7 separate regions of the Homo sapiens genome follow, and regions 1, 2, 3, 5, 6 and 7 are each linked to region 4. Evidence: promoter capture Hi-C in 16 types of primary human blood cells and fetal thymus (Javierre and others, 2016). All regions are on one chromosome and are shown on one strand. The core of a region is centred on a gene start or on the middle of the fragment in contact, and the rest is flanking DNA. Distances in the headings are between cores, read along the strand shown.

Region 1 (3,111 bases), core at 590-3,089, 1.7 Mb after region 4:
GATTTCGGAGGGAACCGAAAGAAAGTTGGTAAGCACCCACAGCCCCGAGCTTGGCTTTTGTTTTTTCTCTCTGACAAAAAAGCTTGGAAGGGCACTTCCAGGCAACCAGGGGCGACTGGGTCAGCTGCTACCCGCGCTGCTTCCTCGAATGTGGAGAGAGCAGCTGGGGAGGTGGGGGAGTGCATCAGAAGCTCAGTAAAATGCAACGGGGACTTTGCACCCTCTTTTTGCTGCTTCAAGTGGACAGAAGGTGATCAGATGTCAGAGCGGGGAGGGCGACTTCCTCCATCCCTACCCCCGCCCTCAGGTCACATGAGGGAAATTACTCCCCAAAGCTCTCTTTCTTAACACTGTCTGGTGATGACTCCAGAACTTCTCAGCATCTAGAACGACAACCTTAGCACGTCAGTCTGCCTGGGCCTGCCACCTCCGGAGGCCCAGAAGTGACACCGAAGGACACAGGGCATCTCCATCTAGCTGTTCTCAGCTTTGATGTGCCCGAATTAAAGGGGTAGGGTGGGCTGGGAGCGGTGGCTCACGCCTGTAATCCCCGCACTTTGGGAGGCCTTGGGCGGGGGGGGGGGGGGGCGCGGATCACGAGGTCAGGAGTTCGAGACCAGCCTGGCCAACATAGTGAAACCCCGTCTCTACTAAAAATACAAAAATTAGCAGGGCATGGTGGCGCGTGCCTGTAGTCCCAGCTACCCGGGAGACTGAGGAAAGAGAATCGCTTGAACCCGGGAGGCGGAGGTTGTGGTGAGCAGAGATCCGCCACTGCACTCCAGCCTGGGTGATAGAACGAGACTCGACCTCAAAAAAAAAAAAAAAAAAAAGAGGGGCAGGGTGTTAAAATACAGTAGCAGTAGCTTAGGTTCCATCCACCTCTATTAGATTCTGGCTCAGTGGGTTTGGGGTGGGACTCTTGGCATGGATATTTTTAACAGGAACCCCAGGTGTTCCTGGTGCTCCATAGGTTGAGAACTCCTGCCCTGGCTTCCAAGGCACGCGCTTTGTCCAACATTCTTCCAAGTGCAGTGCAAAATAAAGAGTCACTGTGAACTCGCAGCGCTCTTGGGCTAGATTATGTGCTCCTTGCTTTACAAGAATTCTCATTTAATGCTCCCGGGAATGCTTTGATGGACATCATTTTCATGTGCATTTTGAAGAACGGGGAAGCCTGGGTAACATGGCGAAACCTTGTCTCTACCAAAAGTACAAAAACTAGCCAGACATGGCGCATGCCTGTAGTCCCAGTTACTCGGGAGGCTGAGATGGGAAGATTGCTGGAGCCGGGGAGGTCAAGGCTGCAGTGACCCGAGATTGAGCCACTGCACTATTCAGCCTGGGCGACAGAGCAAGACCCTGTCTTGAAAAAAAAAAAAAAAAAAAAGAATGGGGAGACAAAGACTTAGAGAACTTACTTGACTTTTCCAATGCCAGTAAATGGCAGGGACAGGATTTGAATTCAGTTCAGTATGATTTCAAGGTACATGTTCCCCTTTTTTTCTCTTTCCCAGTATAACAAGTCTCCTTACTCAACTGAAATAGACATCAATGATGTATTTGGGCATAATGATTTTTTTTTTCTTCTTTTTTTTCTAATTTGACTTTAAGTTCTGGGATACATGTGCAGAACGTGAAGGTTTGTTACACAGGTATACATGTGCCATGGTGGTTTGCTGCACCTATCAACCTGTCATCTAGGTTTTAAGCCCCACATGCATTAAGTATTTGTCCTAATACTCTCCCTCCCCTTACCCCCCATCCTCTGACACGCCCCGGTGTGTGATGTTCCCCTCCCTGTGTCCATGTGTTCTCATTGTTCAACTCTCACTTATGAGTGAGAACATGCAGTGTTTGGTTTTCTGTTCCTGTGTTAGTTTGCTGAGAATGATGGTTTCCAACTTTATCCATGTCCCTACAAAGGACATGATCACACTCTTTTTTATGGCTGCATAGTATTACATGCTGTATATATGCCACGTTTTCTTTATCCAGTCTATCATTGATGGGTATTTGGGTTGGTTCCAAGTTTTTGCTATTGTAAATAGTGCTGCAATAAACGTACGTGTGCATGTGTCTTTATGACAGAATGATTTATAATCCTTTGGGTGTATACCCGGTAATGGGATTGCTGGGTCAAATGGTATTTCTGGTTCTAGATCTTTGAGGAATCGCCACACTGTCTTCCACAATGGTTGAGCTAATTTACACCGTCACCAACAGTGTAAAAGCATTCCTATTTCTCCACATCCTCTCCAGCATCTGTTGTTTCCTGACTTTTTAATGATCACCGTTCTAACTGGCGTGAGATGGTATCTCATTGTGGTTTTGATTTGCATTTCTCTAATGACCAGTGATGATGAGCTTTTTTTCATATGTTTGTTGGCCACATAAATGTCTTCTTTTGAGAAGTGTCTGTTCATATCCTTCATCCAATTTTTAATGGGGTTGTTTGTTTTTTTCTCGTAAATTTGTTTCAGTTCCTTGTAGATTATGGATATTAGACCTTTGTCAGATGGATAGATTGCAAAAATTTTCTCCCATGCTGTAGGTTACCTGTTCATTCTGATGATAGTTTCTTTTGCTGTGCAGAAGCTCTTTAGTTTAATTAGCTCCCATTTGTCAATTTTGGCTTTTGTTGCCATTGCTTTTGGTGTTTTAGTCATGAAGTCTTTGCCCATGCCTATGTCCTGAATGGTATTGCCTAGGTTTTCTTCTAGGGTTTTTATGGTTTTAGGTTTTACATGTAAGTCTTTAATCCATCTTGAGTTAATTTTTGTATAAGGTGTAAGGAAGGGGTCCAGTTTCAGTTTTCTGCATATGGCTAGCCAGCTTTCCCAGCACCATTTATTAAATAGGGAATCCTTTCCCCATTGCTTGTTTTTGTTAGGTTTGTTGAAGATTAGATGGCTGTAGATGTGTGGTGTTATTTCTGAGGCCTCTGTTCTGTTCCATTGGTCTATATATCTGTTTTGGTATCAGTAGCCTTGTAGTATAGTTTGAAGTCAGGTAGCATGAGGGCATAATGATTTTTAAATTGATTTCTTAAATAGGCAACACAGGGCTGGGCGTGGTGGCTCACGCCTGTAATCCTAGTACTTTGGGAGG
Region 2 (3,025 bases), core at 100-2,599, 1.4 Mb after region 4:
AATAATACACCACTATATCCATAGACCGCATTTGGTTTATCCACTCATCTGCTGATTGTTTCCCCCTCTTGGGTATTATGAGTAATGCTATGAACATGGGTGTACACATCTCTCTTGAAGTCCCTTCTTAGGTCCTTTAGGGATACATATCCAGGAGCAGAACTACTAGATCACATATGCTAAGGTCTGAATGTCCCCCCACCAAATTCGTATGTTGAAGCAACCACCAACGTGATAGGTGAGGCTTTAGGAGGTGATTATGTCATGAGAGCTCCATCCTCATTAATGGATTTAGTGCCTTTATAAAGGGGCTCAAGGGAACCAATTACCTCCTTTTTGCCCTTCGATTCCCTTCCACCATATGAGGACACAGCAACAGGCCCCGTCCTAGAAGCTGAGACTGGGCCCTCAATAGATGATACCAGTCTGCCAGCACGCTGATCGTGGGCTTCTCAGTCTTCACAACTATGAGAAATAAATTCGTACTTTTAAATTACCCAGTCTCAGGTATTCTGTTACGGTTAACACAAATGACTAAGACAACAGGATAATTCTGTTTAACTTTTTGAGAACTGCCAAACTTTTCCACCGCAGCTGCACCATTTGACATTCCTTCCAGCAATGCACAAATGTTCCAGTTTCTCCACATCCTTGCCAGCACTCATTTTCTGGGTTTTTTATAATAGCCCTCCAAATGGGTGTGACGTATTTTGATTCTATGTCCCTAATGACTAGTGATGTTGAGCATTTTCTAGCATTGATTTTTAAGATGTTACCCAAAGACCCCTTGTATCAAAATAAGCTGGATTTTTTTATTGAAAATTATTAACTCTAGAAATTTTAGTTTAAACTAGACTTAGGGATATGTGTATTTTACCGGTATTCCACGTTTTATGCATGGGTTTTTAAAACTTCTCAAGTATTAAAACTAAAAGCTTTAGGTGCTTTGCTTATCAAGAAATCCTACACTGTCCACTGGAGACATCCATGTTTTTACTTGGCTCTGCCCCTTTAGTGGTCCCTGTGAACCTTACCTCAAACCATGCATCTGGGGCAGAGATCCTTACTTGCTTGGTGGTTACAAATGCAAATACAGTGAAGAATGTCATCTTTGTGATTGTTCCTGAAATAGTTCACGAGAAATCCATGACCGTAAAGTACTGTGATAGTGATGTCTACCACTGTGAGCTTCCAGTACTAGGTGATTGGTCTGCATTCACAGTGACCAAAATCAGCTATGTGGCCAGGTAATTCACTGCTGAGGGCTTTGGATTTTCCTTTATGAACTACTGAAATGAGGTCAACTTGACTATTACTAAGGGACATTTTGCTACAAAGAATGTTAGTTTTGCCAATTCCCTTTCCAAATCTAAAATTTATTTTAACCAGGATTTTAGATGTAAACATCAAGTAGTTTTGGTTGTTTCAATGAAGTAACATGTTTAAGCTCACATTATTTGAAGTACTTCAGTTCCTATTGCCATGAAAATTGTATCCAGCAGCTAAAAAAAAAAAAAAAAAAAAAGACTACAGTTAGTCATTATCCAATTTGATGATTTATGGTCCAACACTAATGCTCATTTTTTTTGTTTGTTTTACAAACATTTGGTGGATACCACAATGAAAACTGCACTTAAAAAACAAAAATGCTGAAAGAGGAAGGAAATATCAAAAAGGTCTGAATAGACAACAGGCAAATATGGTGAGTGGTCATTGAGATGTTTTAAAAGTTACAGCAAAAGGACTTCTAAAACAATTTTAGGAAAAGCTTTGTCATGAAAATTCATTTCTTTGGAAATACTGTAGTTTGTACTTAATGACACTGTCAGCACATTTCTAGGCAATACAAACTCTTGAGGCTAAATCCTCATCCTGACATGACAGTGCAAGCCTGTCAAAATGTGACCCCAAAACCAGGTGTCCTTTTGCTCCATTATTTATATCTGTAAACCTGTTATTATTTTCAGAATTCAGAAAGGCCTAAGAAAATTACATCTATGATAATAAAGTGTATTTCTTTGTCAAGTTTCTAGAGCTATATAAGGATAGCGAAAATATTTGGTTCAGCAAGACACTGGGGTATCAAGTCAGGCATAATAAGCACTTTATAGCACATCTAGCCTTCCTCATTCCCTTACGCAGTGGACATCATACCCTTTTGTGGAGGAGGGACCAGGCAGAGAAGGTATTTAAATAAAAACTGGTAGATACAGAGTCAGAAGTCAACCCAGGCAGTTAGAATCTACAACCCACACTGTTTGCCACCAAATCTTAGTAGATGCTTGATAAGGAATTTTGTTTGGATGGTGCCATTTTTAGATAAACGTACGTTTCTTTTGGTAAATTCAGGTTAGGATCATAAGCAGTAAACTACCAAATACTCCTTTGTGCTTTGAACATGCACACTGGATGAGTGGGGAGGGGAATGACAAAGCTTCAAACTCCGGGTCTCTGTAACACTCTATCTGTACCTTTCATGTTTAACCTACACAAATACCACAGTCCTGCGTGGTAGTTCACACACACTATTCACCCTGTCGAGTTTCGACATTACTTTTATGTCCATTCTAATGCAGCAGTCACAGACTGACCCCCCAGGTATGTTGGATTTGATCCATTATTTTCTTAATTTGGATTACTTACCAATTCTTCTAATCAGGAGTGTGAATGAAATAGAATTCTACCATTAGTAGAATCACTGCAGATGTTTCTAAATATGAAGAGCTTTTGGGGGTTGGAGGCAGCACACTATTATTTTGGTGAGCTAAGCTATCTACAGCCACTTACATACGTTTGAAGTTTGCAGAAAGGTGGGTCTTAAAATCATACATATTACAATAAAAATTACTCACAAAGGAAAAACTGTTCCCCAAAAATTAACACACCAAACTGGCCCATGATTAAATAGGACAATTTCAAGTTTAAGGGTATAAAAGCAATAGAACAAAGTTAATAAGTATCTCCCATACCTACCCCATGTACAGCCTCCTGAAAGACACCAAAAATAAGAAATGGAGGAAGTCTT
Region 3 (3,177 bases), core at 32-2,531, 1.6 Mb after region 4:
TTACTCCATAAATACATAAGTAAAAACTGGGAAAAGGTCAATTACTAGCTGTTCTTAAACACCCTTTTTCTCACAAATTAAAAATGGACTGGGTGGTAGCCTGCCTGAGTTTCATGGGTGCACTGTAACGTCAATGTTTTAAGACTGAGTAGTCCTTCCCAGGACTCTGCTTGAAGTCCTCCAGGCTGGTACTGTTTAGGGCACTGGCTAGGCCTCTCGGTGGCTACTCACTGCCATCAAGTAATGCCTGAAGCTAAGCATCAACTGATGGGCAGCTGTGGTCAGTGAACTCCACACCTTAAAGGTTCATGGAGACGCCAAACAAGTAGCTGTGCCATTTACTTCCAATTACTTCTTTTATTTGTTAACCAGCCAGGCTTCACTGACTGTTAGCACCCAGTTTCTTGCTATGGACTTTGGTGACCCCAGCATAGCACTAGCTCCAGATACTTCACATTGCCATCTCCTCTACTTTCTCACTTCTCTAAGATGTATGGAACACTTGTAGCTCACCCACAACTACTGAGGCACCCCTTGGCCCTCAGAGTCATCCTCAGAATTCCTTTACATCCAAGATTCTAAGCTCCGAAATTACTCTGATTACAACCTCCAGAATTCTCCAATACTTAACTTCCCTGTGTACATGACCCCCTGGGTTTCAGAGGGCACAGGGTCAAAGGTCTTGTCCCTCCCTTAATCCTTGCAGCTCACTCCGCCCTTTCTGCTCTCATCTGTTTCCCTGTCCTAGCTTGAACAAGGCTGACCTCTTCAGAAATATTTCCTAAGCCCCACTGTGCCTTGCTCTATTGCACTTCAGACCCCCTTACCTCCAATCCTTGTGTCCTGGCTTCACAAACCTCTTGAGTGGAGGAAAACATTACCTACTTGAGAGTTTCTGGCTCAAGTGACACTGTAAGTTCATACTATCTAACCTTCCTTGGCCCTTACTTCATCCCAGTCCTTTTAAGTTCTTAAGTTTTCAGTCTGCAGCAGTTCCACTGCACCTAACACATCCCACTATTTTGGAGCTCTTGCGCTCCCTCTGGGGATGAACTAGCACTGAGACTGTACTGTACGCCACTGGGGCCTTCAAATGCCCTCTTCAAGTATTAGAAACATATGGGCTAGGCATGGTGGCTCATGCCTGTAATCCTAGCACTTTGGGATGCTGAGGTGGGAGGATCATTTGAGCTCGGGAATTCAAGATTAGCCAGGGCAGCATAGTGAGATGCCATCTCTACCAAAAATACAAAAATACACCATGGGCATGGTGGCACATGCCTGTAGTCCCAGCTACTCAGGAGGCCAAGAGGATCGCTTGAGCCTGGGAGGCAGAGGTTTCAGTAAGCTGAGATCATACCACTGCACTCCAACCTAGGGACCCTGTCTCAAAAAGGCAGTCCAAAGCTCAGGTCAAAAAAACAAAACAAACAAACAAAAAAAAACAAAAAAAGGTAAAAAAAAAAACAAAAACAAAAACTAAATTAAAACAAAACGAAACAAAGCTCAGGTCCACTGACATGTTTTGTTTAGCACATATAACTGTTTTTTTAAAATATGTAGTTTAAAAATATTTTATTCATATAATTCGATGAATTCGATGTGTATGATTTTTAAAATGTAAATTAGTGACCACTTAAATACAATATTTTATATAATTAAATCTGGATTCCTTGCTTCTCTTAGATAATAAGACTGGACATCACTGAGCCCTACCATGTAACTGACTAATGCGATACGCATGGGAAGCTGCCCTCTCCAAAAGGGCCACACGGCTTCATTCACCACAGTCCCTCTTCCCGACCACCCCACTTCCCTACACAGGTTCCCTGCCTGGTCCCAGGAAGCATTCTGAGTTTGTGGTTCTTTGATCTAAAAGAAGGGTTCTTTTTTTTTTTTTCTCAAGACAGAGTTTTGCTCTCGTTGCCCAGGCTGGAGTGCAATAGCGTGATCTTGGTTCACCGCAACCTCCGCTTCCCTGGTTCAAGCAATTCTCCTGCCTCAGCCTCCTGAGTAGCTGGGATTACATGCATGCGCCACCCCACCTGGCTAATTTTGTAATTTTAGTAGAGACAGGGTTTCTCCATGTTGGTGGGCTGGTCTCGAACTCCCGACCTCAGGTGATCAGACCACTCGGCATCCCAAAGTGTTGGGATTACACAGGCGTGAGCCACTGCGCCCGGCCTAAAAGAAGAATTCTAACTCGTCTCACCCCCACGGCTGAGATCCCCTCAACCTCATCCCTTTCCACCACTGCTTCACAGGGAGGGTCCCACCTCTGCTTCTTCACTTTAATCTCTATTTGCGAATGAGGCAACAGCTAGCCAGTACCTCCCTTTTGTCTCTGAAATTCAATCCTCACAATCCTTTGCTCCCAAGATGTCTTCCAGCACTGACTTCTTTCCCCTCTCTCTGGGCCCCCTATGGACAATGCCCTCTTATAAGGACTTCTCACTCTTAGACATTGCCTCTCTAGCCCCTGTATTAATGCCAAATTGCATAAAAGTTACTCAACCCTTATTTTCAATTTCTGTACTCTTACTATTGAAAACCAGCAACAGACCACACTGAGCAGCCCCAGCCCAGAGGTGTAAACACTGAGGCATTTGTGGAAATGTAAATTTCTCATGTCCCCCTAACTCTTCCACGACTCTCCACTGACTACTTGCAGGTAAAATCCATGTTCTTCAGCAGGCCCCAAGCACTTTGTGATCCACTGGAGGAATCTGTGATGCAACTGCCCTCTTCCATGCCCCTGTGATTGCACACAGCTTCTTCCCTCTGCCAGGACCTCCCTGCTACCTAGGAAACCGGCTGGCAGAGCAACCCTTCCATTCCTGTGTTACAGAAACACCTTGCACACATTGCAGTTGTTGTATGTATCACACTTTACTGTATCTTCCCCATGTCTGTCTCCCCTAAGAGGCAACGTGATTCTTGAGGTCAAGGGGCAACCGTCAATACACTCCCTGGCACCAGAGAAGTCTTCCTTAAATGTTGATGAGCTGGTGGCCCCACCAGTCAATAGGTCAAACAACTTAACCATCCCTCCTGCCACCTGGCTTAAAACCGACCCCTAAATCCCTACATCCACCACACAGCTGCCCTGTCCCTGTAAAAACCTTACCACCCCCTACCCCCTCATGCCCAAGGCTAACTTGCAACAATGTTCATTTC
Region 4 (3,252 bases), core at 494-2,993:
ATTCCTTGGCTAACTTTCTGTATGCCTTTGAAAATGGATAAAAACAAAAAAGGTTATAACTAAACACCAGTTAAAAGTTTTGTAATAACTTAATATCCACTTTTCTGAGAAGTAATGTTCTAGAGTTATAACCTTTCAAAAATATTTTCTATTCGTAGGGATTCTTCGGCACTTTCTCGCGATACTGTTTACTAATGTAATATAACCAAGTAGACAGCAGCTATACTTGAAAACAGGTTACAGTGACGTGAAAACCAGATAAAACAATGAAGCAATGCCACAGGGAAAAACAAAACGTTCAAACATTATCCATATTTTCCCTATTGTCAAGTGTCTTTGATGGCCAAGTAACCAGACCAAGACGACCCTAATAAATTCGAGATAAATGACTGTTAAGCTTTGCGGACTGCAAAACATTACTATAAATCAAGCTAAAGTCACAATTCCTGCTCCCGATGGCTCACGCCTTCCTTCTAACTGTAACATCATGAAAAAGTAAAGGTGGTCCTAGTTAGCGTCTTTTGGTGTTTTATTTGCACGTGGTGGTTAACTGGGGTCGTGGTGGCAACTTCGGTGGTAGAGAAGTTGCACACACTCTCAACGAGGTGTTTGGGTCCTAAAGCACTTAAATCTTCATTCACGGAGGCTCGTGAATTATATAATACAGACTAGCATTTCCGGTAAGGTAACAGGAAGTCCACTGTACTCTTCTCACTGCCTAAGGAGCATTCTCATTTTTCTCGGCTTACAAATCTGGATGCTCTTAGCCTGGTGAGGATGCTGTGGGGCTTAAATGCCTCGTGTGCTTTGAAATCCTGAGATGAAAGATATCGCAGCATTGCAAATAGCAATAATAAGGCCTTCTATTTATGTTTACTGTACACTCAGGCGTTTGGCTGGGACCACGGCTTATTCCTAAGCAGGTACAGGACATTAGCATTACCTGCCCAAAGAACAATGCATCCAAACACAGACCCAGCTACCTCCGGGTCAATGGGCGAGGGACGCAGAGAGGGAGGAGCTCCCGCAGCCGGCGGCCGCGGAACCCAGGAAACAACCCCATCCGCCCGAGGCGCTCTGTGGGGGCGGCCTCGACCTCCCCGCCGTTCCTCCCCGCGGAGCACCAGACCCGGGGCCGACGGCCGCGGGGCGGACAGCTTCTCTCTCGGGGCCGGGATGCGCTGAGCACCTCGGTCCAACCTGTTTTTCCGGGGTGGTGACCTCGACGCGAAGGACCGGGCGAGCTGCTGCCTCCCGGGGGATACCAGCCCCCGGCGCTCGTTCAAGGAGGGAGGAAGGAAGGGCTCCCATCGTGTTTGCGCAGGAGTGAGTTTTATTTGCTGCATCTGCGGGCGGGCGGGGCCGGCGGCCCCAAGGTCAGCCGAGGCCGGAGTGCGCGGCTCGCGGCGAGGCCGGTCCCGCCGCCGCCGCCGACTCCCAGCCCGGGCCAGTCACGGCCGGCGCCGGCTCGCGGGCAGCCCAGTAGCGCGGCCTGGCTGAAGAAGACATCCCTGGCCGCGCAGGCCCCGCGCCCCTCACACCCGCCCGGCCCGCTCCCAGATACCTTCTTCAGCTCGTTCTCGCTGGCGCCGGGCGGGACGCCCAGGATGTCGTACAGCTTCGTGTCAGCCACGTTAGCCATGGCGGCCGGCCGGGCAGTGCTCGGGGAGAAGGTGGCGAAGCAGACAGAGCGGAGTCGGGCCCACAAGCGGCGTCGGCGGCGGCACAGGCCGAGGGAGACAGCGAGGGGGAAGCGGGGGCGGGGCTGAACTTTGACCCAGCGCACGGTGCGCCGTGACGTCGCTGTGCAGAGCCCGCCCCCGAGCGCCCGAGGCGCGGCCACTGGGGTCGAAGTATTGAAGAGTGGGCCAGGTTCTCTGTTTTCCTCCAGGTCCAGGCGGCTGGGCAGGGCCAACGTAGGAAATGAAGAACTGTGCACGGCGCACCCCAGGAATTCAGCTTCCTCTCAAAAGCCATGGTTGCGAGGTCGCGTGTTTAACCTCGCACTGGCTGCTGAGGGAATTAACAGGCCTGCGCAGCAGCTTCGTTAGCTTCGAAAGAAAATGGGCCCCGGCTCCCGCAGGAGGCCCGCCTGGCGCGCAGATGTCGTTATTAGAATCCGGGACGTCGGTGGACCCTCTGGGTCTGGCTCCCTCGGGGCTTACGATGAAAAAAACTGGGGGGCGCGTGTGTGTGTATGTTGTGTTTTATATTATGAGAATTCTGAAACATTTAGCAGAAGCAGTATATTACTCCCCATAGTGCAGTTAGCTACCTTTTACCTGTTTCATTGGCTCCACCATACATTTCTAGTGTTTTAAGGGAAACCGTTTCATTCATAAATACCCTAAGTGTATATATTTAATATCTAAGAGACAACTTTTAAAGGCATAACGATGTAATCTCATCTAATGAAATTAACAATTCCTTAATCTAATTCCCAGTCCATATTTAGGTTTTTCAGATGATCTCATGTCCTTTTACAATTGGTTTGTGGCATCCGGGTCCAAACCAAGGTCCACATGTTGCATCTGGACCACGTGTTTAAGCCTCTTACTTGATAGCTTTAAAATTAGCTAACACCAGAGGTTTAGATGGTGTAAGGCAAGTCTGGCCACCAGGTGACTTGATTTACATTCGTTTTAGTTTCGCTCAGAAAGTATGCTGTGCATCTACCAAGTGCTATGATGTACAGAGGCCTGGTCCGGGGAGAGGAGTGTTACAAAAGTGCCTGCCTTCAACCCATTTACGGTTTATGGAGACAGAAAAGTAAGGTTTTCTGATCCCTTGGAACCTGAACTGATAGCAAAGACTTCAGCATAAGCATCTCACTCAGGATAATGTTTCTTCCTTGGCGTTCCCTTTGACCTAGTTGTGGAGGGCCTGAATTCCATGACAAGGACTCTGAAATTTAGCTTGAAAACCCTAAGAGTAATCAGTGATAAGTCATTAATAGTCCTTAAACCCTTTTCCTCAAATCCCATCTGAAATCCTGCTCCCTCTGTGAAGTCTTCCTTTACTGGGCACTGGTGAACACTGCTATCTCATTCGAGTTCCCACCACCCTTCGTTTGTACCTTTTGTGGTAGGATCTCGAACTCTTTTGTTTTTTTTTTTTTTTTTTTTTTTTTACTTGAAACAGCGTCTCGTTATGTCGCTCAGGCTGGAGTGCAGTGGCGCCATCTCAGCTCGCTGCAACCTCCACCTCCCGGCTTCAAGTGATTCTCCCACCTCAGCCTCTCGAGTAGCTGGG
Region 5 (3,057 bases), core at 285-2,784, 1.4 Mb after region 4:
CCTTCGGGGGTACACCGCATTTCACTCTCACTTGGCTCACAGCCATCACCACAGTCCATGCTGTGAGTGCATTGCTGGTTCTGCCCCCGTGCTGTGTGCATCTCTGCTGCTTTAATGCTGGGAAACTCCGTGGTTATGCCCCAACTATCTTGGCAATGTTCTGAATCAGACATAGATAATACCTATTAAAGGTATTAATAGGCCAATAATACCTAGTAAAGAAGAGCTGGGATATACCTCTGCATAGATTAAATCAACTAGAAAACACTAGCCCCCTCCCATTTTCAGACCGATTTTATTTCTTTTAAGTGGGAAAATAGTCGAAGTGGGATGAAGCAGAGCTAGCTTATTCTACTCATTTTATATTTCTGTGGCCTTTTCAACCTCTGTTTAACAGCACTTTATTACTTAGTTTTTTTGTTTTGTTTTGTTTTTTTGGGATGGAATCTCACGTTGTCGCCCAGGTTGGAGTGCAGTGGCATGATCTCGGCTCACTGCAACCTCCACTTCCCGGGTTCAAGCGATTCTCATGTGTTAGCCTCTCAAGTAGCTGGGATTACAGGCACCTGCCACCAGGTCCGGCTAATTTTTGTGTTTTCATTAGAGATGGGGTTTCACCATGTTGGCCAGGCTGGTCTCGAACTCCTCACCTCAGGTGATCTGCCCGCCTCAGCCTCCCAAAGTGCTGGGATTATAGGTGTGAACCACCACGCCCAGCCTCACTTTATTACTTTTAAGAATATGCTTCAAAATAGTTTGTAAAGAAGATTTTAATAGGGAGCACTTATATGAAATATAATAGTGATATATAGTATAGCATAGAGCAGAGTCTTCAGTCTTTGTATCTTTTTCTTTTTTTCTTATGCATATTTAATGTATGTGATTCCCAACCGTTGTGTGATTGTGGTCAGAGCCCTGTCTGTGGGATGCTGGGTAGAATGAGATTGTAGAGAGCACTTTGTTTTCTTGTAATTGAAGGGTTTGGGGTGAGAATATGTGAGTCATAGAAATCTGTATAGTAAATATTACTCTAAAAAGGGAGCCATCAGGATCTGGGAGAATTTGCTAAAGGAAAACTAAGAATGAAAAAAAGGCCAGGTACAGTGGCTCACTCCTGTAATCCCAACACTTTGAGAGGCCAAGGCAGGAGGACCTGAGGCCAGGAGTTCAAGACCAACCTGGCCAACATAGTGAAACCCCGTCTCTACTAAAAATACAAAAATTGGGCCGGGCGCGGTGGTTCACACCTGTAATCCCAGCACTTTGAGAGGCTGTGGCGGGTGAATCACGATATCAGGAGTTCGAGACTAGCCTGACCAACATGGTGAAACCCCGTCTCTACTAAAAATACAAAAATTGGGCCGGGCGCAGTGGCTCACACCTGTAATCCCAGCACTTTGAGAGGCCGTGGCGGGTGGATCACGATATCAGGAGTTCGAGACTAGCCTGACCAACATGGTGAAACCCCGTCTCTACTAAAAATACAAAAATTAGCCAGGCATGGTGACGTGTGCCTGTAATCTCAGCTTCTCAGGAGGCTGAGGCAGGAGAATCACTTGAACCCAGGAGGTGGAAGTTGCAGTGAGCCGAGATCACACCATTGCCCTCTAGCCTGGGTGACACGGGGACTCCGTCTCAAAAAAAAAAAAAAAAAAAATTGGCCAGGTGTGGTGGTACACACCTGTAATCCCAGCTACTTGGGAGGCTGAGGCATGAGAATCGCATGAACACAGACGGCAGAGGTTGCAGTGAGCTGAGATCACACCACTACGCTCCAGCCTCTGTCTCAAAAAAAAAAGGGGGGGAGGGGCGGTGGGGGGAGCGGGAGCCAGTATATAATTCAGTATCTCTCATCTATACATATTAAGGCTTTTGACCATTACCAAATTCTCCCAGCAGCTCTCTGAGAGTACTGTAATTCTGGTTTTGCTGATTAGAAAACCAGATACAAAGAGGTAAAGTCACCTTGTTCTAGGCCACTAGGTGGTAATCTGAGTCAGGACTGGAGACAATGATTTATTTTTAATATCTCATGTAATGTTAATCTCATAACTCAGGGCATAACTCTTTTACCATTTTGGACTATATCATTTCATTCATATGATAAAGACACTGTAGCTTCCCCCTCACCTGCAGCTTCACTTTCTGCAGTTTTAGTTACCTGTGGTCAACCATCGTCCAAAAATATTAACTGGAAAATTCTAGAAATAATCCACTCGTAAGTTTTAAATTGTGCACTATTCTGGGCAGTGTGATGAAATGTCGAGCCATCCTGCTCTGTGTGACCCTGGACAGGAAGCCTCTCTTTGTCCAGCATATCCATGCTGTATGACTCCCGCCCCTTTAGCCACTCAGCAGCCATCTCACTTACCAGATCAACTGTCTTGGTTTCAGGGTGTTTGTGTTCAAGTAACCCTTCCTTTACTTAATAATGGACCCAAAGCCAAGAGCAGTGATGCTGGCATTCTGGGTTTATTTTATTAGTATTGTTGTAAATCTCTTACTTTGCTTAATTTATAAATTAAACATGATCATAAGTACATATCTATAGGGAAAAAATGGTATATATAGGGTTCTGAACCATCCTGCATTTCAGGTATCCACCGTGGGTCTGGAAATGTATCGCCTGTGGAGAAGGGGTGACTACTGTGTATGTAAAAATCACCCTGTGTGAAATGTTATATCCTCCCCTTTCCTCAGTTTAACGTTGTTTTGAAAGAATTTTCTCACATTACTTGAAAACACTTAGGAAACCATTTTTAGTGACTGTAGTATTTTACCAGTTAGATATGCCATGGTTTACTTAACCATGTTCCTAATGTTGGGTACTTATATTGGATCTAAGTTTTGCTGTTATTTGTAGTGCTGCGATGGGTGACTGTGCACAAACCCTTGCCTGTACTTTTGTGTATTTCCCTAAGGATAGATTGCTGCAAAAAAGAACCACTGAGTGTGAGACTGTAAATATTTGGAAGGCTTTCAGTCTATTTCCATATTGCTTTCCTGAAAGATTGAACCAGTTTATACTTCTGTAAGCAACAGTGTTTGAGAAGATCT
Region 6 (3,126 bases), core at 189-2,688, 1.3 Mb after region 4:
TACCAAAAATGTTAATCACATTACCTCTCTATTTTTTTAAGTGGTATATAGTCAAAAATAAAATATTTTTGTTTGATGACAGGTATACCAGAGAGGCAGGGGTTCGTTCTCTGGATAGAAAACTTGGGGCCATTTGCCGAGCTGTGGCCGTGAAGGTGGCAGAAGGACAGCATAAGGAAGCCAAGTTGGACCGTTCTGATGTGACTGAGAGAGAAGGTTGGTGACCTTGTTCTGGCATTCTCAGGCCTGGTGGCTAGGAGTGAGTGACAGAAGAAGGTTGGGTATGGAGGGGAAGGTGTTGGGTAGTCCTTGGAGCAGTGGCACACATGACTCCACTGTTAAATGCATCCAGTAAGTAATACCTTAATGTTTCAACATATTTCATCCAGAGGATTGTCTTTTACAAATAGCACAGTTTTAACTGGAATAATAATATGAATGCTTTGAGGATATAGGAACTGTATTAGGGTTCACTAGAGGGACAAGACTAATAGGATAGATGTGTATATGAAGAAGAGTTTAAGGAGTATTAACTCACACAATCACATGGTGAAGTCCCACAATAGGCCATCTGCAGGCCGAGGAGCAAGGAAGCCAGTCCAAGTTCCAAAATCTCAAAAGTAGGGAAGCCGACAGTACAGCCTTCAGTCTGTGGCCGAAGCCCCAAGAGCCCCCAGCAAACCACTGGCGTACGTTCAAGAGTCCAAAAGTTGAAGAACTTCGAGTCCAATATTCGAGGGCAAGAAGCATCCAGCACGGGAGAAAGCTGAAGGCCAGAAGATTCAGCAAGTCTGATCCTTCCAGCTTCTTTTCTCTGCTTTATTCTAGCCATGCTGGAAGCTGATTAGATGGTGCCCACTCAGATTGAGGGTGGGTCTGCCTCTCCTAGTCCGCTGACTCAAATGTTAATCTCCTTTGACTATATCCTCACAGACACACTGGAACAATACTTTGCATCCTTCAATCCAAAGTTGAAACTCACTATTAACCATCACAGTAACTTTCTCCAGATGTATAATGATGGTGTACGTTATGTATGGGTTCTGGTGTTATCTTATTTCTTTCTGACCCAGACAGTTAAGTCTTTAAATAATTTATAACATAAAAAGTTTTTACAACATAAGACAATCCATGCTGTTCAGGTACTGCAAGGACAGACCTTTGTACTCTGGAATAGCTCCATGTGTAATAATTTTTCACACATTTTCTTTTATGGATAAACAACTAAATGTAATTTAAATTATTCTTTAAAAAATTATTGTGAAGGTGTTCTATTACTGGAATTAATCAAATGTGGATGTTCCTTTGGTATCTACTTAAAATGTTTTAACTGGCCAGGCACAGTGGCTCATGCCTTTGATCCCAGCACTTTGGAAGGTTGAGGCAGGCAGATGACTTGAGGTCAGGAGTTTGAGACCAGCCTAGCCAACACGGTGAAACCCCGTCTCTACTAAAAATACAAAAATTAGCCAGGCGTGGTGTTGGGCGCCTGTAGTCCCCGCTACTCTGGAGGTTGAGGCAGGAGAATCGCTTGAGCCCAAAAGTCAGAGGTTGCAGTGAGCAAAGGTCATGCCCACTGCACTCCATCTGGGCAACGGAGCGAGACTCCATCTCAAAAAAATAAATAAGTAAATAAAATAAAATGTTTTAATTTCTTGCCCCAAAACTGTAAGGGGTCTCAGTTCATCATATCATGCTGTTATGCAGTTTGCCAAAACTTGCTTTAACAAACATGAGTTGTAGGGAATTGACAATTTCTTTCATAGTAAAGAGATTTATTAGATTTTTCTATCATTTCCATAGCTGTTTCCAGAAAGGAGTTGGATGACTGTGATTAAAGAACCATAATTTATGGTGGACCCAGTTGAACAGACACAGCCAAATGTCTTTCTTGTTTTTCCATCAGTCGCTGAACACAGTGCATTTTACAGCAGTAGCATCAGAGTCAGCTTTCACAGAATCCTTCTGTGGCCAGTACAGTGCTTCACCCCTGCCTCCCCACGCCTGGAACCTCACTGGTTCATTTTCTCCAGAGAGCGAAGCTCCTATCTTCTGTTGGATTGGAGGGAGGCAGTGCCTTCATTATGTGGAGTAGGAGTAGAGGTAGTGAGTTCTAATTGTATTTTATCCAGACTTTAAAACTTGTGCTTTATTTTTATTATTTTTATTTTATTTTACTTTTTGAGATGGAGTCTCGCTCTGTCGTCCAGGCTGGACTGCGGTGGCACAATCTTGGCTCACTGCAACCTCCGTCTCCGAGGTTCAAGTGATTCTCCTGCCTCAGCCTCCCCAGTAGCTGGTACTGTAGACGGATGCCACCACGCCCGGCTAATTTTTGTATTTTTAGTAGAGACAGGGTTTCACCATGTTGGCCAGGCTGGTCTTCAACTGCTAACCTCAGGTGATCTGCCCACCTTAGCCTGCCAAAGTGCTGGGATTACAGGTGTGAGCCACTGCGCCTGGCTTTATTTTTATTTTTTATTTTTACTCTGCCTTGGGAGAATCTAGAAAACTTTTGCCTTTTGTCCCACTCTTCATCCATGCTTTCAGGGCTACCTTGAATTCTTTAGCTTTTGTAGACTTTTAGGACCCACATCAACTTGTTGTTCTCTATCTCTAGCCCCACAAATGTTGAGGTTTCTGCTTTCTCTAGCCTGTTAAGTGTTGGTTACTTTTTGTCCATGTACTTTTTGTTTCCCAAAATTTTGTCAGCATCTCTTGTCAGCTGATGTCCTCTTTGTCATTATTTTTGTTCTTGTGGGTTTATATATTTTTTATTTCTTAATTGTCATTTTAATACTATTCAGACAGGAAGTAAAAACGCATGCTCAGACTACCATTTATAGAAATTTGAATTTAAAAAAAATGTCCTAGGTGAGGGAGTACCTATCAAGGGTGGAAATCACTTGTGTAGATGACAGTGACAGTGGAGAACTGAAGTCTATAAAAGTTAAGACCTAGATCTAGATGCTCCTGAATTTCCCCTTTTTATTCTTAACAACACTTCCTTTGTGCTGTGATCTCAAGCAACTGAGCCTAGGTCTTTTTATTCTTGTCTGATATAACAGAAGGTAGAGGATGAAATAAATGAGTTTATTAGGTAACACATTTTGAAAATTGTGTTTA
Region 7 (2,957 bases), core at 144-2,643, 1.4 Mb after region 4:
AAGCGGCTGCCCTGCCCGCCGACCGGGACCCCACCCCTAAAGAGAGTCCCAGCCTCTCCCGAGGTTGAGCCGCTCCTCAGCAACAGCGGGACGAGCTTCAAAAGCTTGTTTCAGCTGAAAAGTGGGTAATGGGGAAGCACGCGTTTTCCTGTGTCCATGCTCATCTGGAAAGTCCCTAATTAGGGACTCTGCATTCCACTTCTTGAAATAATAAAAGGAAAACATCACTTGCAATTCTTTGATGGGTGCTATGAGCAGAAGCAAGCATCTGAGACATTTACAAGCCCTAACTGGAATTCCATGTAAGATCTATTAAAATGGTATTCCGTCCGGACGCGGTGGCTCACGCCTGTAATCCCAGCACTTAGGGAGGCCGAGGCCGATGGATTACCTGAGGTCAGGAGTTCGAGAGTAGCCTGGCCAACATGGTGAAACCCTATCTCTACTAAAAATACAAAAATTAGCCGGGCGTGGTGGTGCACGCCTGTAGTCCCAGCTACTCGGAGGCTGAGGCAGGAGAATCGCTTGAACCCGGGAGGCAGAGGTTGCAGTGAGGCAGAGATCAGGCCATTGCACTCCAGCCTGGACAACAGAGCGAGACTCTGTCTCAAAAAAATAAAAATAAAAATAGAAAAATCCCATACCGGGCACGTATGTACAAATTCCCAGTGTATGATAAAGTTTATATGTGCAAAACACTAGTTTACAGTATTCCTAATTACATGATTTAAACTGCAATTTTACTTTCACATTTTTGGGGAGAAGTTATAGCTCCTCAGTACACGGGAAGGTCAATAGAGTTCGGTTCACTTCAGTTTAGAGGTAAATTTTCCATTTTTACAGACTATGTGCTTGGCATAGCCATGTGGCCTTGACCTGGTCGTGAAGGGCAGAGGAGTTCTGTCCTGGGCGAGGAGCAGCTCTGGGGTGAGATGTGTTTCTCGCCCCCAGAACCCCTGGGCCGCTCTGCAAGCAGTGAAATGGATACGGACTAAGAGAGAACTTGCCAACGTGGCGATTAAAGTTCTAAACACCCGGCTTTGCCAAAGTCAGATTTTGTCCTCCTTATCCCGCATCCCTTCCTCTACCCAACAGCATTTGTCCATCTGAAAATAACAGTCTGTCTCTGGCCCACTGCTGACAGTCGAGGACTTACCTTATAAACTAGTGGATTCTCTTAAACTGCAGGGGTGCCCAGGACACAGTGTCCCCTGAGGATGCCGCACACCAGTCTTGAAGTGCTGGATCGTTGACGTCAGGCACCCAGAAGCAACTTCTGCCTCTGGAATTCTCAAACGTGCTTTTCTTGGCTTAGTTTGTGCCTGCTCTCCTCTAGAAGAGTCCAAGTTACTTCTTACTTTCCCCACTTCCCTTTTATACAAAACAAATTTAATCGGGTTAATTCCATCTCTGAGAATTCCTACCTAGATTTGGGCGGGGCTCAATCTGATTTGGTTAATTCTGGGTGGTAGCTATGGGTGGGACATAAACATCACCATTATAAATTTAATTTACTCCCCCTCTCAAAAAAATGTACCTTCCATTTGAAAGAAAATAGCTCCACTGTGGGGGTAACTAAGCACCTTTTCTGAACAGGGAGTTGACTCTGCTTCCTTGACAGTTTATCCATAGAAAAGCATTTTGTAAACTGTAAAGCCTATCCAAATAATCCTCCAATTGATGGGATTTCAGTAACGGTGACAAATATTTTCAGGCCACATCTGGATAGGGAGCCTTCCTGGTCCCCTCAAATCACATCAAATGGTAATTCCATCTATTGCAATGGAACATAACGCTCTGGTCCTGCATCTGGCCCGTAGTTAAGGTACCAGTGATGTAAATTACTTTCCTCTTATGAATAAAACAGGCACTGGCCAGGCACGGTGGCTCACACCTGTAATCCCAGCACTTTGGGAGGCCAAGGCAAGAGGATCGCTTGAGGCCCAGAAGTTCCAGACCAACCTAAGAACATAGCAAGACCCCGTCCCTATAAAAAGTTTAAAAATTAGCCCGGCAGGGTGGTGTGCGCCTGTAATCTCATCTAATCAGGAGGCCAAAATGAGAGGATTGCTTGAACCTGGGAATTTGAGGCCATAGTGAGCTATGATTGTGCCCCTGCACTCCCATCTGGGTGACAGAGGGACACTCCATCTCTAAAAACATAAAAATAAATGAATAAATAAAACAGGCACTGATGAGAGTATCTTTATTTGGGGGTTTTGCTATGAATTTATATTAAATTGATATTTATTTATTTATTTATTTTGTAATCTCGGCTCACTGCAACCTCCATCTCCTGGGTTCAAGCGATTCTTGTGCCTCAGCCTCTCAGATAATGCTGTCAAAGTTGGCTAAACTAGTTAAGACTGAACAGATGATTTCCAAGTGTCTTCATGTCAATATAGTTATTTTACAATAGACCAGTTCACAAGACCAAACCCATCTATTGAATCACCGATGGGCTGTGTTTGTTTCCAGGCAATCACAGATGTCTCTTGCCCAGGAAACTATAGCTATCTCCTCTTACATTAAACCACTGATACCCATTTGTCATTCAGCTTAGGTGGATAGGTCTGGAAACATATTAGCATTCCCTTCCAAGCCTGGCTCTGCTGGTAGCGAAACAGAATCTTTTTCAGCCTGGAAACTGGAAGGCGGTTCCTCCCTCCCAAATAGACTCCTATAAGCTTTGCAAAGGAAAGCAGGTCCCCAACTTGTCAGACATGCCTACAGCAGAGCAGAAACAATGTTTTCTTTATCAGACACACCTGTTGCCAGTCACTGTCTGAGGTTGGTGAATGTGTTAAACAGTATCCCAAACAAATTTTCCTGGACATGGTGGAGAAGTTAGAGACACAACATGAGCATCCAAGAATGAAACAGGAAGTAGCTGAAGGAAGTTCCCAAAAGCCCAAGTGGTTGGGAAATGAGTTCGCCCATAACTGTAGTTTTCCTTC

What was found. The method cuts DNA at HindIII sites, captures the fragments that hold promoters and counts their contacts. A CHiCAGO score of 5 or more calls a contact.
Region 1: a contact is called between a fragment that was not itself captured here and the fragment with the promoter of DNAJA2 in region 4, in 1 of 17 cell types (fetal thymus). The highest score is 7.1, in fetal thymus.
Region 2: a fragment that was not itself captured here is called in contact with the fragment with the promoter of DNAJA2 in region 4 in 2 of 17 cell types (total CD8 T cells and naive CD8 T cells); the score reaches 5.6 in total CD8 T cells.
Region 3: a contact is called between a fragment that was not itself captured here and the fragment with the promoter of DNAJA2 in region 4, in 1 of 17 cell types (activated CD4 T cells). The highest score is 8.7, in activated CD4 T cells.
Region 5: a contact is called between a fragment that was not itself captured here and the fragment with the promoter of DNAJA2 in region 4, in 1 of 17 cell types (naive CD8 T cells). The highest score is 7.8, in naive CD8 T cells.
Region 6: a fragment that was not itself captured here is called in contact with the fragment with the promoter of DNAJA2 in region 4 in 2 of 17 cell types (naive CD8 T cells and non-activated CD4 T cells); the score reaches 6.5 in naive CD8 T cells.
Region 7: a contact is called between a fragment that was not itself captured here and the fragment with the promoter of DNAJA2 in region 4, in 5 of 17 cell types (fetal thymus, total CD8 T cells, naive CD8 T cells and 2 more). The highest score is 16.5, in fetal thymus.

The regions. Positions count from the first base shown.
Region 1 is chr16:48,623,576-48,626,686 of GRCh38, forward strand. LOC105371240 (a long non-coding RNA gene) reads left to right here. Exons shown (of 4, transcript NR_188470.1): 1 at 1-28. Among named protein-coding and RNA genes, the nearest start is that of N4BP1, 15 kb to the left of the region's middle. The HindIII fragment of the contact is 3,519 bases long and covers 81-3,111 here.
Region 2 is chr16:48,355,009-48,358,033 of GRCh38, forward strand. LONP2 (lon peptidase 2, peroxisomal) reads left to right here. Exons shown (of 15, transcript NM_031490.5): 15 at 1-2,341. Among named protein-coding and RNA genes, the nearest start is that of SIAH1, 29 kb to the right of the region's middle. The HindIII fragment of the contact is 833 bases long and covers 934-1,766 here.
Region 3 is chr16:48,603,147-48,606,323 of GRCh38, forward strand. All of the region lies in intron 1 of N4BP1 (NEDD4 binding protein 1), which reads right to left. Among named protein-coding and RNA genes, the nearest start is that of N4BP1, 5.4 kb to the right of the region's middle. The HindIII fragment of the contact is 6,554 bases long and covers 1-3,177 here.
Region 4 is chr16:46,971,931-46,975,182 of GRCh38, forward strand. DNAJA2 (DnaJ heat shock protein family (Hsp40) member A2) reads right to left here and starts at 1,744. Exons shown (of 9, transcript NM_005880.4): 1 at 1,565-1,744; 2 at 1-25. The coding sequence starts at 1,642. DNAJA2-DT (DNAJA2 divergent transcript) reads left to right here and starts at 1,842. Exons shown (of 2, transcript NR_186372.1): 1 at 1,842-2,195. RefSeq lists silencers at 616-695, 1,046-1,115, 1,146-1,195, 1,346-1,425, 1,456-1,505 and enhancers at 1,936-2,005, 2,066-2,155. The HindIII fragment of the contact is 5,496 bases long and covers 396-3,252 here.
Region 5 is chr16:48,327,039-48,330,095 of GRCh38, forward strand. All of the region lies in intron 11 of LONP2 (lon peptidase 2, peroxisomal), which reads left to right. Among named protein-coding and RNA genes, the nearest start is that of SIAH1, 57 kb to the right of the region's middle. The HindIII fragment of the contact is 4,980 bases long and covers 1-3,057 here.
Region 6 is chr16:48,303,090-48,306,215 of GRCh38, forward strand. It overlaps LONP2 (lon peptidase 2, peroxisomal), which reads left to right. Exons shown (of 15, transcript NM_031490.5): 11 at 83-216. Among named protein-coding and RNA genes, the nearest start is that of ABCC11, 57 kb to the left of the region's middle. The HindIII fragment of the contact is 4,768 bases long and covers 1-3,126 here.
Region 7 is chr16:48,385,898-48,388,854 of GRCh38, forward strand. It overlaps a transcript of SIAH1 not described here. Among named protein-coding and RNA genes, the nearest start is that of SIAH1, 2.0 kb to the left of the region's middle. The HindIII fragment of the contact is 2,583 bases long and covers 103-2,685 here.